Regions from separate parts of the Homo sapiens genome. Here region 1 is linked to region 2. Evidence: promoter capture Hi-C in 16 types of primary human blood cells and fetal thymus (Javierre and others, 2016). All regions are on one chromosome and are shown on one strand. The core of a region is centred on a gene start or on the middle of the fragment in contact, and the rest is flanking DNA. Distances in the headings are between cores, read along the strand shown.

The links. The method cuts DNA at HindIII sites, captures the fragments that hold promoters and counts their contacts. A CHiCAGO score of 5 or more calls a contact.
Region 1: the fragment with the promoter of METAP1D here is called in contact with the fragment with the promoter of FASTKD1 in region 2 in 2 of 17 cell types (non-activated CD4 T cells and total CD4 T cells); the score reaches 9.2 in non-activated CD4 T cells.

Annotation. Positions count from the first base shown.
Region 1 is chr2:171,996,253-172,003,029 of GRCh38, forward strand. It overlaps METAP1D (methionyl aminopeptidase type 1D, mitochondrial), which reads left to right and starts at 3,701. Exons shown (of 10, transcript NM_199227.3): 1 at 3,701-3,757. The coding sequence starts at 3,718. LOC124905590 (a long non-coding RNA gene) reads right to left here and starts at 3,657. Exons shown (of 3, transcript XR_007087296.1): 1 at 3,427-3,657. RefSeq lists a silencer at 3,396-3,695. The HindIII fragment of the contact is 8,153 bases long and covers 1-6,762 here.
Region 2 is chr2:169,569,107-169,575,478 of GRCh38, forward strand. FASTKD1 (FAST kinase domains 1) reads right to left here and starts at 4,759. Exons shown (of 15, transcript NM_024622.6): 1 at 4,563-4,759; 2 at 2,547-3,065; 3 at 78-146. The coding sequence starts at 2,923. RefSeq lists enhancers at 4,341-4,510, 4,366-4,968, 4,871-4,970. The HindIII fragment of the contact is 12,279 bases long and covers 2,691-6,372 here.

The sequences.
Region 1 (6,777 bases), core at 2,451-4,950, 2.4 Mb after region 2:
CCTTCCTTGCTTCCTTCCTTCCTTCCTCCCTCCCTCCCTCTCTCTCTCTTTCTTTCTTTCTTTTGACAGAGTCTCCCTCTGTCGCTCAGGATGGACTGCAGTGACACCATCCTGGCCCACTGCAACCTCCGCCTCCAGGGTTTAAGCTATTCTCCTTGCCTCAGTCTCCCGAATAGCTAGGATTACAAGTGCCCGCCCCATACCCGGCTAATTTTTGCATCTTTTAGTAGAGATGGGGTTTCGCCATGTTGGCCAGGCTGATCTTGAACTCCTGACCTCAGGTGATCTGCCCGCCTCGGCCTCTCAAAATGCTGGGATTACAGGCATAAGCCACCACACCCAGCCTGTGTTTTCAAATATCTTATAGTAATCCTAATATATATATATATAAATCTAAACTTGTGAGACAAATTACAAGATGATGTTATTTACTATAAGACAAACATTTTTAAAAAATTATTTACTTCATGTCACATAATCCCTTAGAGCATTTAAAAATGCAAATATTCAATTAAAAATTCAATACATACATTACAGAACCTGCATAATTTAACTTTTATTACAAACTACAAATTTAGACACACTCATGGTATAAGTCTATAATATTAAGTTCAAGAAGGAGGAAGGAAAAATGGGTTTTTCAAAAATATGCATATTGGAATTTATTTGATTTATATCTTTTATAAATAAAAAGATTTTAAAAGATGTGAATAAGACATGATCTTTTGAAAATCAAGGTAAAGACCTATAAAATAATAATCACAATCAAAATATTTTAACATTCAAGAATGAATTTTTGGACATAAACTGAAGGTATTAAGTTATCCTTTATTTCTTGAACCCTGGTTTTCAAAAGTTATTCAACTTTTTTTTTTTGAGACAGAGTCTTGCTCTGTTGCCCAGGCTACAGTGCAGTGGCACAATCACAGCTCACTGCAGCCTCAAACTCCGGGGCTCAAGCGCTCCTCCTGCCTCAGCCTCCCAAGTAGCTGGGACTATATGCATGTGCCACCACATCTAGCTAGTTTGTAAATTTTTTGTAGACACGGGGTCTCACTATGTTGCCCAGCTGGGTCTCCAACTCCTGGGCTCAAGCAATCCTCCTGCCTTGGCTTCCCAAAGTGTTGGAATTACAGGTGTGAGCCACTGCACCCGGCCGAATTATTCAATTTTTTATTCAAGAATCCTAAGTACAAAATCTGACTAATGGTAAGAATTCAAATCAGTGAAGTGCCATAATATAATTAACCTTCATTTCACAGATAGGAGCACGGACAGAAATGGAGTAGAGAAGTGACTCAGTAGCGGTTACTCATCTAAATAAAAGCACTCTAATGCTCAAGATCACAGAATGTTAAAATTGCAAGGGATCCTAGATATCAGTGATCTAGCCCTTTATCTTGTTGGTCACTATGTATATATCCCTTTTTTTTTTTTTTTTGAGAGAATCTTCCTCTGTGGCACAGGCTGGAGTGCAGTGGCAGGATCTCGGCTCACTGTAAACTCTGCCTCCCAGGTTCAAGTGATTCTCCCGCCTTAGCCTCTGAGTAGCTGGGATTGCAGGCATGCACCACCATGCCTGGCTAATTTTTGTATTTTTAGTAGAGACAGGTTTCACCATGTTGCCCAAGCTGGTCTCGAATTCCTGACCTCAAGTGATCTGCCTGCGTTCGCCTCCCAAAGTGCTGGGATTACAGGCATGAGCCACCACACCCAGCTTATATCCCATAAGTTGATGGTTTTGGCGGACATGTGCTGGCAGCTTTTAACCCTTCTGCGGTGAGAAGGATGTGTATGAGAGAAGCCAGATCCAGGGTCAGTGGATGAGCTATCACCTGTGCAAGTTCATATTTGCTTCATTTCTAGCTCATCCCAGATATCTACATTCCATGCCGAACTTATTGAGGATTTCCTCACTGGATTCCACTACTGCTGGTGCCACCTGGGTCCTCATAGTGTTTCCTTTTCCTTTTAGTTGTAGGGGAATAAAGCATTCATTTATTTTCCAAGGGTTGGCTGAGTTAAGTCACATGAACATGTGTTCTATTTCAGATGGGTTTGAAACTAGGCTTGATGCCTTAAGGAATAGGGATGTCTAGATTTCTTTTTTCTGTACACTGCTTAAGACTCTGTGGCCAGCTAACTCTCAGGCTCCTTTGCTGCACTCAGATTGCTGGCCTCAGTTACACAGAGGACAGATTTGCCACATTCAAAAATGCTCTCCCTGGAATTGAAATGAGTTTGCAAAAGGTAGGAGTACATTTTATTCTCATTCTTGTGCATCTTATTTACCCTGATGGAAAGCATTACTTCTCTTTATCTTTCAAGGTGACCCAAAAGCATCCAAAACCAGGTTTTCCAGAATTATAGCATGTGTCCTCTAATGAAATGCCAACATTCACTCTCTTTAAAAGTAAAAATATCAAGATTATATAGTCATTAAAAAGAATAAGTCTGAACTAAGTGTTCTAAGATTTGATGCCTATGATGACTGGAATGGAAAAAGCAAGTCATATGATTCTATTTAAAATACTTACATTTGCCTGTGTGTAAAAGGCAAAGATCTCAATTGAGCACACGGTGGTTAACTGGGGAGTGGGACTATGGTATGTACAGAGGGCGAGGAAGGGGCTTGCACTTGTTCCTTATTTCTGAATTGTTCTGAATTGTCTAGATTATTCACTGAGTGTGTAGTGCTTAAAAATTAATTAGAAGACATCACACACATTCACTGAGAATCCTAATCAATCTTCACTGCATTTAAAGTCTGGAAACGGTTACATTCTCAGTTTGACTGGTTTCATGCAGTGTTCAATTGCTTCACCTGACATTCCTCGGGTATCGGGTTCTGTGCCGGGCACGGAGGCTACTAAGATGAATAACACCTGGTCCATGACAGGATGGCATCTACCCCAGAACACAGGTAAGAGAGACAGTGAATTTGGTAAAAATGGGCACCGTCATCAGTAGGCATACATCAGCTCCCTCATCTGATTCACAATTGGCCTTCTGTAGGCTTCTTCTCTTGGCAATGCAATTGGCAGGCGTCATCCTTTTATACTTAAACTCCAAATTTAGGATTAAGACTCCAGTTAATACTGCCAAGCAGAAGGCGTCCTTGGAGAAAGAGAAGTCTCCTGAACATACCCACTGGGGTACCTAGAATAGATTTTGCAGCGACACACAGATCCTGTGTTGTCTGGAGTCTCTGCTGAGTAATGTAGATTCTGGGACAGCAAAAGGGGAGCTGGTGACTTTGAACCAAATTTTACCTTTCAACTGAATCCAGGGGAATAATTTGCAACAGAGTGGCAGACGATACAAAGTGCTATGTTGAACACTAGATTGTGCTTTATTTTTTCCGCCCAACTTCACGTTTCCATGCACCAAAATGTTGATGCTATAAATATTGGATGCCACGCTTACCTGACAGGCTTCTTCCATCCCACCTGGGCGCGGGGGCTCAGAGCGAGCGCGCGAGCCGCGGCTGGAGCCCGCCTCTCGCGGCTGGAGAGGACTCAGCCGGCCGCGGGTTCTGCTGCTTGCCCGGGTGCCCTAGCCGCTTCCCAGCCAGGGCTCCCGCAGTCAGCCCCGCGCGCGCACGCGCGCTCCCCTCGGGCGGCCTCGACGCCTCAGGGCTTCGGCAGGGCTGCGACTGGCCGGCTCCAGCGGGCGGGGCGGCGAGCGAGTGCTCGCGGCCACGTGACCGACGCCAACATGGCGGCGCCCAGTGGCGTCCACCTGCTCGTCCGCAGAGGTAAGCGCGTGGAGGAGAGCCCCGTGAGGGTTCGCACGGTTGCTCACTAGGTACGCACCCGGGTCCAAAGGGATGCGCACCCGCGCTCAGACTTCTCGGCGCACACGACTGTACTTTCAGTGTTTACGAACACACGCAGGCACACACGATGACACATTCACACACCACAGGATCACACATACAAATTTGTTCACTGATCACCCGCCTAGAACACGTCACCACGTGGCATCTTTTCGCAATTACTCCTTGAGATTTGCGGGCCATTGTCTGAAGTTTTTTTCCCCAACTTCGGTTGTATCATTAGTGTAACCAACATTTATTCTGTATGCCGAGCAAGGAAACCTATGGTAATTCTGAAATGCATCTGGACACCCGGTTCCCTTCCCTAGAGCTTTTATGCAGGCATGCTTTTTGGGGACTTGCAAAATGTGATGGTTTTCTTCCAGTGACTTAAAGTTAAGAAGATAAGAAAGGATGTCTGGGTAGTTCTAAGTAGGTTTTATCCTGCGTGAGTGTTGAGATTTTAGTAAATATACAAATGCCTTTGCAGCAGAATTGGGGAAATCTTTGTTGGATTTGAACTAGGTGCTGAATCTTTGTTGGAAAGAACTAGAAAGTTTTTCCAAGGACGGGGGAAGAGGAAAACTATCATATTTTGAGGAGCTACTTAAGCGTCAGGCATGTAGGAACAGTTTTGTGAGGTAAATATTATTTTCATAGTAACAGCTACTGTTTATTAAGTGCCTTTTAAGTACACGATACTGTGTTAAGCGCCTTACATATGCTTGCTTCCTTTTAAAACTCAATGAATGAGACCCCGTCTCTACAAAAAATTTTAAAAATTAGTCGGGCGTGGTGACACATGCCTGTAGTCTCAGCTATTCTGGGGGTTGAGGTGGTAGGATCGCTTGAGCCTGGGAGGTCAAGAGGCTGCAGTGAGCCGTGATCGTACCACTGAACTCCAGACTTGGCAATAGAGCCAGACCCTGTCTCAAAAACAAAAACAAAAACCCAGTGAGTTAGGAATTATTTTCTCTTTGCAGAAGGGAAAAGTAAGGCTAGAGAGGTTAAGTAACATTACTAAGGTCGCATAAATGGTAAGAGGCAGATTGCTCATTTGAACATGACTCTAATTTTTTTTTTTAAGACTCATTTCTCGGTACTGCATGACGTGGTCACTCCATAGAAGTCAGTGTGTAAAGTTCAGCAGAGACAGTGCAGGATGAGTGTGTACAAAAAGTGAAGAGAGCCTGGGCACGGTGGCTCACACCTGTAAACCCAGCACTTTGGGAGGCCGAGGCAGGTGGCTCACTTGAGGTCAGAAGTTCAAGACCAGCCTGGCCAACATGGTGAAACCCCGTCTCTACTAATATACACAATTAGCTGGGCGTGGTGGCGCATGCCTGTAATCCCAGCTACTCGGGAGACTGAGGTAGGAAAATTGCTTTAACCCAGGAGGTGGAGGTTGCAGTGAGCTGAGATCATACCACTACACTCTAGCCTGGGCGACAGAGCGAGACTCCGTCTCAGAAAAAAAAAATAAATAAAAATAATAAAAAATAAGAAGTGAAGAGGAAGATATTTTTAGAGAGGAAGAAGGTTGGTAATCGAATAGACTTCAGTATTTCAGTGTTAGTGGAGATGAGAAAGGGGCCACAGGAAGATTTGAGGGGAGAGATGTGTATGGGGAAGGTGATGTAGCGAGCATTTTGGACTGGTTGCATGAAGGAATGGACATCAGCATGAGAGTGTAGCCTTGTGAAAAGACAGCCAATTTACATCTCTCAAGATCTGGGTGCCAGGCCTGGCAAGGTGGCTAATGCCTGTAATATTACCCAGCACTTTGGGAGGCCAAGGCGGGCAGATCACTTGAGGCCAGGAGTTCAAGACCAGCCTGGCCAACATGGTGAAACCTGTCTCTACTAAAAATACAAAAATTAGCCAGGTGTGGTGGCACATGCTGGTAATCCCAGCTACTTGGGAGGTGGAGGTGGGAGGGATCGCCTGAACCCAGGAGGCGGAGGTTGTAGTGAGCTGAAAAAAAAAAAAAAAAGATCTGGGTTCCAGTCCAAACTTTCTTTACTAATTACTTTTCTGTTTCCTCTTTTCACAAGAAATCATGGCTTTTAGACTTCATTTTTGTATGCTTCAGGTAATGGTGAGAAGGATCTGAGGAGATAGTCAATGTAGAGGAGGAGCCAAAAAAAAAACAACCTGAAAACATACATAGGTGTATGTATGTATATATATATACACCTATGCATGTATAAACGTATTTTTATATGTGTGTATATATGTATTAGGTTGGTACAAAAGTAATTGCAGTTTTAGAATCAATGACAAAAACTGTGATTACTTTGCACCAACTGTATATATAACATCTCTTTGCAGATAACAGAAATAGCATTAATCTTTTCTTTCTTTTTGATCACTTATTATTTTGACAAATGGTGGTTTAGACAGTCTTGAGAAAATATATTATATGGAAGTCAGGCCAAGTTATTGGTTCCTATAATCCATCCCACTGTATCCCAAAGTGTTGCAACAACCAAGAAGTGGATCCTCTGATTAGAGGAGAGAAGAAAAATGTGTCATCAGGAAGCTATTTTAATGATGGAGAAAGGGCCCCTTTTTGGACTACCCATAGCTAGTTTTAAATTGCAGAGAGGTTTTCCTGCTCCCCACCCCCAAGAATTGAAAATGAAGGGTAAATTCACGAAGACTCCTCTCTCCACCCTCTTCCTCCCTTTCACCCATCTAGATTTATGTAAAGCAATCCATTACAAGTCTTCATGTACCAGGATTTATTATCAGCATTTATGAGCATCATTTCTTCTTGAAATAGAGGAAGACTTTTTTTTAACCTTTTAAAAAAGGCATGAGGTTTCTCTTGTGACGCCTCAACTCATTGTGGCTTTGGTCACAGTATACCCTATATACAGTAGTTACCTAGCTCCTCTCACCATTTCTGCTCCTTACTAGATTATTAATTCTTGTTGAACAGAAGCTTTGTCTTATGT
Region 2 (6,372 bases), core at 3,509-6,008:
TCTTTCCCTTCAAGATTTCACTCTGTTAACCCTGAAAAGAATAACCCTGATCTTCAAGATGAACCCAGGGTACTTGCCTTTCTAGCCTTCTCCATGCTTCTGTAACTAGTGCTTCAACTAGCGGGTCATGGGCCTCACCAGCAAACCTTAATAAAAAAGAAAGAATCCTCCATACATAATCATTTTAAAATCATTAAAAACATATGCAATACGAATGATAATGCAAAAGTGAAACTCAAGTTATTTTCCTCTTATACAGGCAGTCCTTATTTCTGGTCCACTCTTATTTCAATATTCTGATTTTTTGGTACAGCCTAATAAACATCTATACTTTATCCCATGCCCTCTCACCCTTTTATCTGCTTATTTCAATACCCATGCTACTGACCAATGATAATGTTCAACAATATATTTATGTTAAAAGTACATATAATATGTCTTTGTTCTGATTTAAATACTTTTGATCAGGCATGGTGGCTCACACCTGTAATCCCAGCACTTTAGCAGGCTGAGGCGGGCGGATCACTTAAGGTCAGGAGTTCGAGACCAGCCTGGGCAACATGGTGAAACCCCGTCTCTACTAAAAATACAAAAATTAGCTGGGCGTGGTGGCATGTGCCTTTAATCCCAGCTACTCAGGAGGCTACGGCAGGAAAATTGCTTGAACCCTGGAGGTAGAGGTTGCAGAGAGCCGAGACTGCACCACTGCACTCCAGCCTCGGTGACAGAGTGAGACTCCACCTCATAAATAAATAAATAAAATATTTTTATAAGAAAATGTTTGTAAAAAAATTAAAAAGCTAATAGTCACCAATCACCTTATTCACAAAACTTTAAGCATCCCCTTCAAGTACCTCAGAGAAAACAACTTTGTAACCTGAGAAAGGCCACCAAAAAACATGGAATCATCCTTTTTCAGTTTAACATCAATCCCCAATATAAGCCCCAAGCCCCTTTCCTATAAATGCCAATTCTCTTACAAAAACAACTTACACGTCTCTAACTTACGTAATGCTGATATTTACAGCCATTTAAATAACCCCTGAAGGTTGGGTCATCATGTGAGAAAACTGCTCTTTTTCATCAGTGAGACTAATAAACAGATTAGGTGTAACTTTTTTGTTTTTTCCCCCTTGTACAACTGCTGAAGCCTTCATTCAGGGAACCCAGTTCTTTTGAAGGCTGGATTTCCTTGCAAACAACATATTTCTTTTTATTTTTTTTCCTTTTTTCTTTGCTCTCTTCATTTTTTCTTCACAAATCCCAAAACTGGAATGTAATATTTCTTAACATTTATCTCTGAGTTTTTCCACTGACACCAAGGAAGCCCTTCTTTACGTAATACCTATCAACCATCCACATAATTTGTATAACATTGTTATCAAATATAAATGAATCTACAAAATCATTTTATTTCTTTTTCCTTTTAAGGGCTATTATTGAGAAACAACCTATTGTACCAATACCCCCTAGAAAACATATGTGCCGTCCATTTAATTACAATAACGAGATTGCAAACAAGTTATCACAGACAAAATTTACTAATTGCTGATTGTTATTAGGCATTACTTTTTTTTTTTTTTTTTGGAGACAGCGTCTCACTCTGTCGCCCAGAATGGAGTAGAGTAGCATGATCTGTGCTCACTGCAACCTCTACCACGTGAATTCAAGAGATTCTCCTGCCTCAGCCTCCAGAGTAGCTGGGATTCCAGGTGCCTGCCATCACGCCCAGCTAATTTTTGTATTTTTAGTAGAGGCAGGGTTTCACCATGTTGGCCAGGCTGGTCTTGAACTCCTGACCTCAGGTGATCCACCCACCTCAGCCTCCCAAAGTGCTGGGATTACAAGTGTGAGTCACCACACCCGACTGGCATTAATCTTAAATCTAACTGCTTACCTACTATATCCTCATCTGCAGCCAACCACATTTTCACAAAACTCCACAATAATCCAATTTCAAATGCCCACAGTTAACAATAGTATTACAGTTGTTAAAGGAGAATTGCTTGAACCTGGGAGGCGGAGGTTGCAGTGAGCCAAGATTGTGCCACTGTACTCCAGCCTGGTGACAGAGCAAGACTCCGCCTCAAAACAAAACAAAACAAAACAAAAAAATTAGATTATCAGGAAAACTACTGGTGAAAAAAATTATTTTTCATTTTGAAGAGATTTTTAGACCTGGCACAGTGGCTCACGCCTGTAATCCCAGCATTTTGGGAGGCCGAGGCATGCGGATCACAAGGTCAGGAGATCAAGACCATCCTGGCTAACATGGTGAAACCCCGTCTCTACTAAAAATACAAAAAAATTAGCCGGGCGTGGTGGCAGGCGCCTGTAGTCCCATTGACTCGGAAGGCTGAGGCAGGAGAATGGCGTGAACCTGGGAGGCAGAGCTTGCAGTGAGCCGAGATCATGCCACTGCACTCCAGCCTGGGCGACAGAGACTCCTCAAAAATAAATAAATAAAATGAAAATAAAGAGATTTTTAGAAAATTAAAATGTAAACTATATAATCATTCCATAAAATATAAAAGTAAATTACTTACTGTTGTGTGACGTATAACACATTCACCAGGGTATCGTCATTCATTAATTTGAATTTATTTGTAGCTAAATTATGAAGAGTAAGAAATTGAGGATGGTCTCTGACATACTCAGCATTTTTTAACAGGCTGGTCTTCTGCTTTTGAAGCTTCCAAAGCATATCAAATGCACATCCCACTTGCTTTTCTGAAAGTATGGCTTTGTTTCTTTCAATAAAACCAAACATTTGCTCCTCATCTGTACACTTATTCATCTGAATAATTAGTGGTTCACAACTGATGGGTCGAAATTGAAACACTCTCCAGGAGAATGGACAAATAGCTCTTAGACGAAGCATATTTGTAACCAATGACTCTAGGAAAACAGGTGTTTTTTTCATTTATATCACAAGTTTTCTTAGGTAAACAAAACCATCTGCAACTAGTCGTCAGGTGCAATAAGCAGGGATACAAATAACAGTTTTTCCTTCATGTATTTTGCTTCCATTACAATGACTGTAAACGCATTCCAATGTACAGCTTCTATAAAAGAATTGGTTTAACATGGTTATGCTTACATCATTAATATCAAAATGATTCCAAAATTCAAATTAAAGTAATACATTTTTTCTGCATTAACTAAAGACTTTTTCTTAGTCTAAACCAGATAGCAGAATTTGATCAAAAAATAAATGTCCAGAAAAAGGGGCTTCTTTCTGCACCCCATTTTAAAAGTGTTTTAAATCTGACATTTACATAAAGTTTTCAAATTTACCATAAAAGGAAAAAAAAAGCCCACAAACTCAGAGCTGTCTTTTCGAAAAAGAGGAAAATTGTTTAAAATAAATAATCACCTTCAAAGTTTCTAAAAAGTGTAGGCATTAATTCAGAGCCATATATATTTATACATACATATATATATACTTTTTTTTTTTAATTTTTCAGAAGTATGGTCTCAGGTTTATTTGCTTTCAGGATAATTTCTTGCCCCTTTTTCTTGTGCCCTTAAAGAGCTCAAATAATTCCTTTCTTTAGAAAATAAATAAATAAAAGAAGTCATATAATTTAATCATTACTGGCCTTGGATAGGTTTTAACCAATGAACGACACAATTAAAGCACCAATCAAGAAATACTAAGAAATTAAGTAATGTTTCAAGTCATGCTGAAACAATAAAAGAACTAAAGATAATTATGAAAAAAGAATAATTTGTTTTAAAAATATGCTATAAATGTTTACATTTATAATTGAGAAGTAATGGTTAGAAAAGCAGGGACTAAAGTCATATAATCTAATATTTCTGCAACATGTTACCATTTACAAAGAACGTTTGAAACACATTATCTCATTAAATTCTCTCAGCTAACCTTCCAGGTTGATATTATTTCCATTTTACAGATAAGGCAAAATAGGTTCAAAAAGGTTTAAAAAATCCTTCTAGTACTAGTGAAGCAGGGACTACAACTCAGTTCTTTCCACTTGAACAGCTTCATTACACAAACAAATCAACGCTGTATCACTAAATTCATGTCTCAGACCCCTCTCTACGGCTATGCCAAACAGTCTGTTCACAAGAAAAAACGACGCGACAGTACAGGCTATTTTGTGGCAAGCAGTACAGCATCCTGACCTAAGCTGACCTGGGTCACAAACCTGCACAAGAAAACCCTGCACAAATCAAAGGTATCCTCAAGATACTATATTCATCCACTGAGCTGCTCAAAGTGGAGGCAGCTCAATGGTTAGCATAGAAAGGTGTCGAGTCCCCAGCTTTGCCCCAGCTGAATGACCTTAAGGAAGGAACTTAACTACAGGAAGGGCCTTGGGACCCTAAGGGGTATCTTCTGCGCCGGGCATAAAGGAGAGCTAAACAAATGAGTGAATGAATGGGGTCTCAGCCCTGCCCTAGTCCATCCGCACTTCAGAGAACCCAATATCCCGAAGGAAGCCTCCGTATCTCAACTGAACCCTATGTCCCCAGCCCGAAAACGTGCTGGGTGGGAAAAGAAAAATAGCCGCTGCCACACAGTCCCGACTTGCCAGCAAGGTTTTCCCTCAGCGCGCCGCAAATTTTCTGGAGGATCCTGGGGTTATGAAAGCTCAGAAGTCAGGGTTATTCCTGGTCCCAACACGGAACGAAACAGGCTCGGATGTCTCGCCCAACCCTCATATCTCAGGGTTTATAACCTTTCTTCGAGAGACATGACCTTTCCCATGAGACCTTGCCCCCAAACCAGGAAAAAATGCCCGGCAGGCGCAGCGTGCACTGCGGAAGTCACGCACTACATATCCCAGGGTGGGTCGCGGCGAGGTGGGTGAAATGGACGTCGCTCACGCATTTTGGGGGAATTCTGGGCATTGTAGTTCCTCATTGAGGGAGGCTCTAGCGCAGTACACAGCTTAAGCTGTTGAAGAAGATATAGGTCGTTTAGGTGATTCTCTACTATCTAAGGTTGTTCTCCTAGTCCTTGGAAGTCTACTACTTTTATAATATACACAAAAATATACTTAGGAAAATGAAATTTAAAAATGTAAACATGGAAAAGACACGTACAGATTTTTCTTATTATTTTTTAGCATATACGAAATAACTCTGTCGAGTAACTTTGAAAGTATGCAAACTCATACTCTCAGTTTCTGCACTTATGTCGTGGATAGGTACCAGTTCTCAGACCATATTTTTTTTTTACTTACCATGGTATTTTAATAGTCCCAAGATTTGACACTTGACACTTAAAAAAAAAATACCACTAATAAATAACCAAAGTGGAATGCTTACCAAAGTTACAACAGACATAATTTTCAGCTGATAATCACTACAACAAAGTAAGGCTCTAAAGGTACCAAACTGATATTTGTTGGAATATGCTGTGCAACTTTCTTTTTTTTATTTTATTTATTTATTTTTTTTATTGATCATTCTTGGGTGTTTCTCGCAGAGGGGGATTTGGCAGGGTCGTAGGACAATAGTGGAGGGAAGGTCAGCAGATAAACAAGTGAACAAAGGTCTCTGGTTTTCCTAGGCAGAGGACCCTGCGGCCTTCTGCAGTGTTTGTGTCCCTGAGTACTTGAGATTAGGGAGTGGTGATGACTCTTAAGGAGCATGCTGCCTTCAACCATCTGTTTAACAAAGCACATCTTGCACCGCCCTTAATCCATTTAACCCTGAGTGGACACAGCACATGTTTCAGAGAGCACAGGGTTGGGGGTAAGGTCATAGATCAACAGGATAAGAATTTTTCTTAGTACAGAACAAAATGAAAAGTCTCCCATGTCTACTTCTTTCTACACAGACACAGCAACTTTCCGATTTCTCAATCTTTTCCCCACCTTTCCCCCTTTTCTATTCCATAAAACCGCCATTGTCATCATGGCCCGTTCTCAATGAGCTGTTGGGTACACCTCCCAGACGGGGTGGTGGCCGGGCAGAGGGGCTCCTCACTTCCCAGTAGGGGTGGCCGGGCAGAGGCGCCCCTCACCTCCCGGACAGGGCGGCTGGCGGGGCGGGGGGCTGACCCCCCCACCTCCCTCCCGGACGGGGCGGCTGGCCGGGCGGGGGGCTGACCCCCCCACCTCCCTCCCGGGCAGGTCGGCTGGCCGGGCGGGGGGCTGACCGCCCCCACCTCCCTCCCGGGCGGGGCGGCTGGCTGGGCGGGGAGCTGACCGCCCCCACCTCCCTCCCGGACGGGGCGGCTGGCCGGGCGGGGGGCTGACCCCCCCACCTCCCTCCCGGGCGGGGCGGCTGGCCTGGCGGGGGCTGACCCCCACCTCCCTCCCGGAGAGGGTGGCTGCCGGGTGGAGACGCTCCTCACTTCCCTGACGGGGCGGCTGCTGGGCGGAGGGGCTCCTC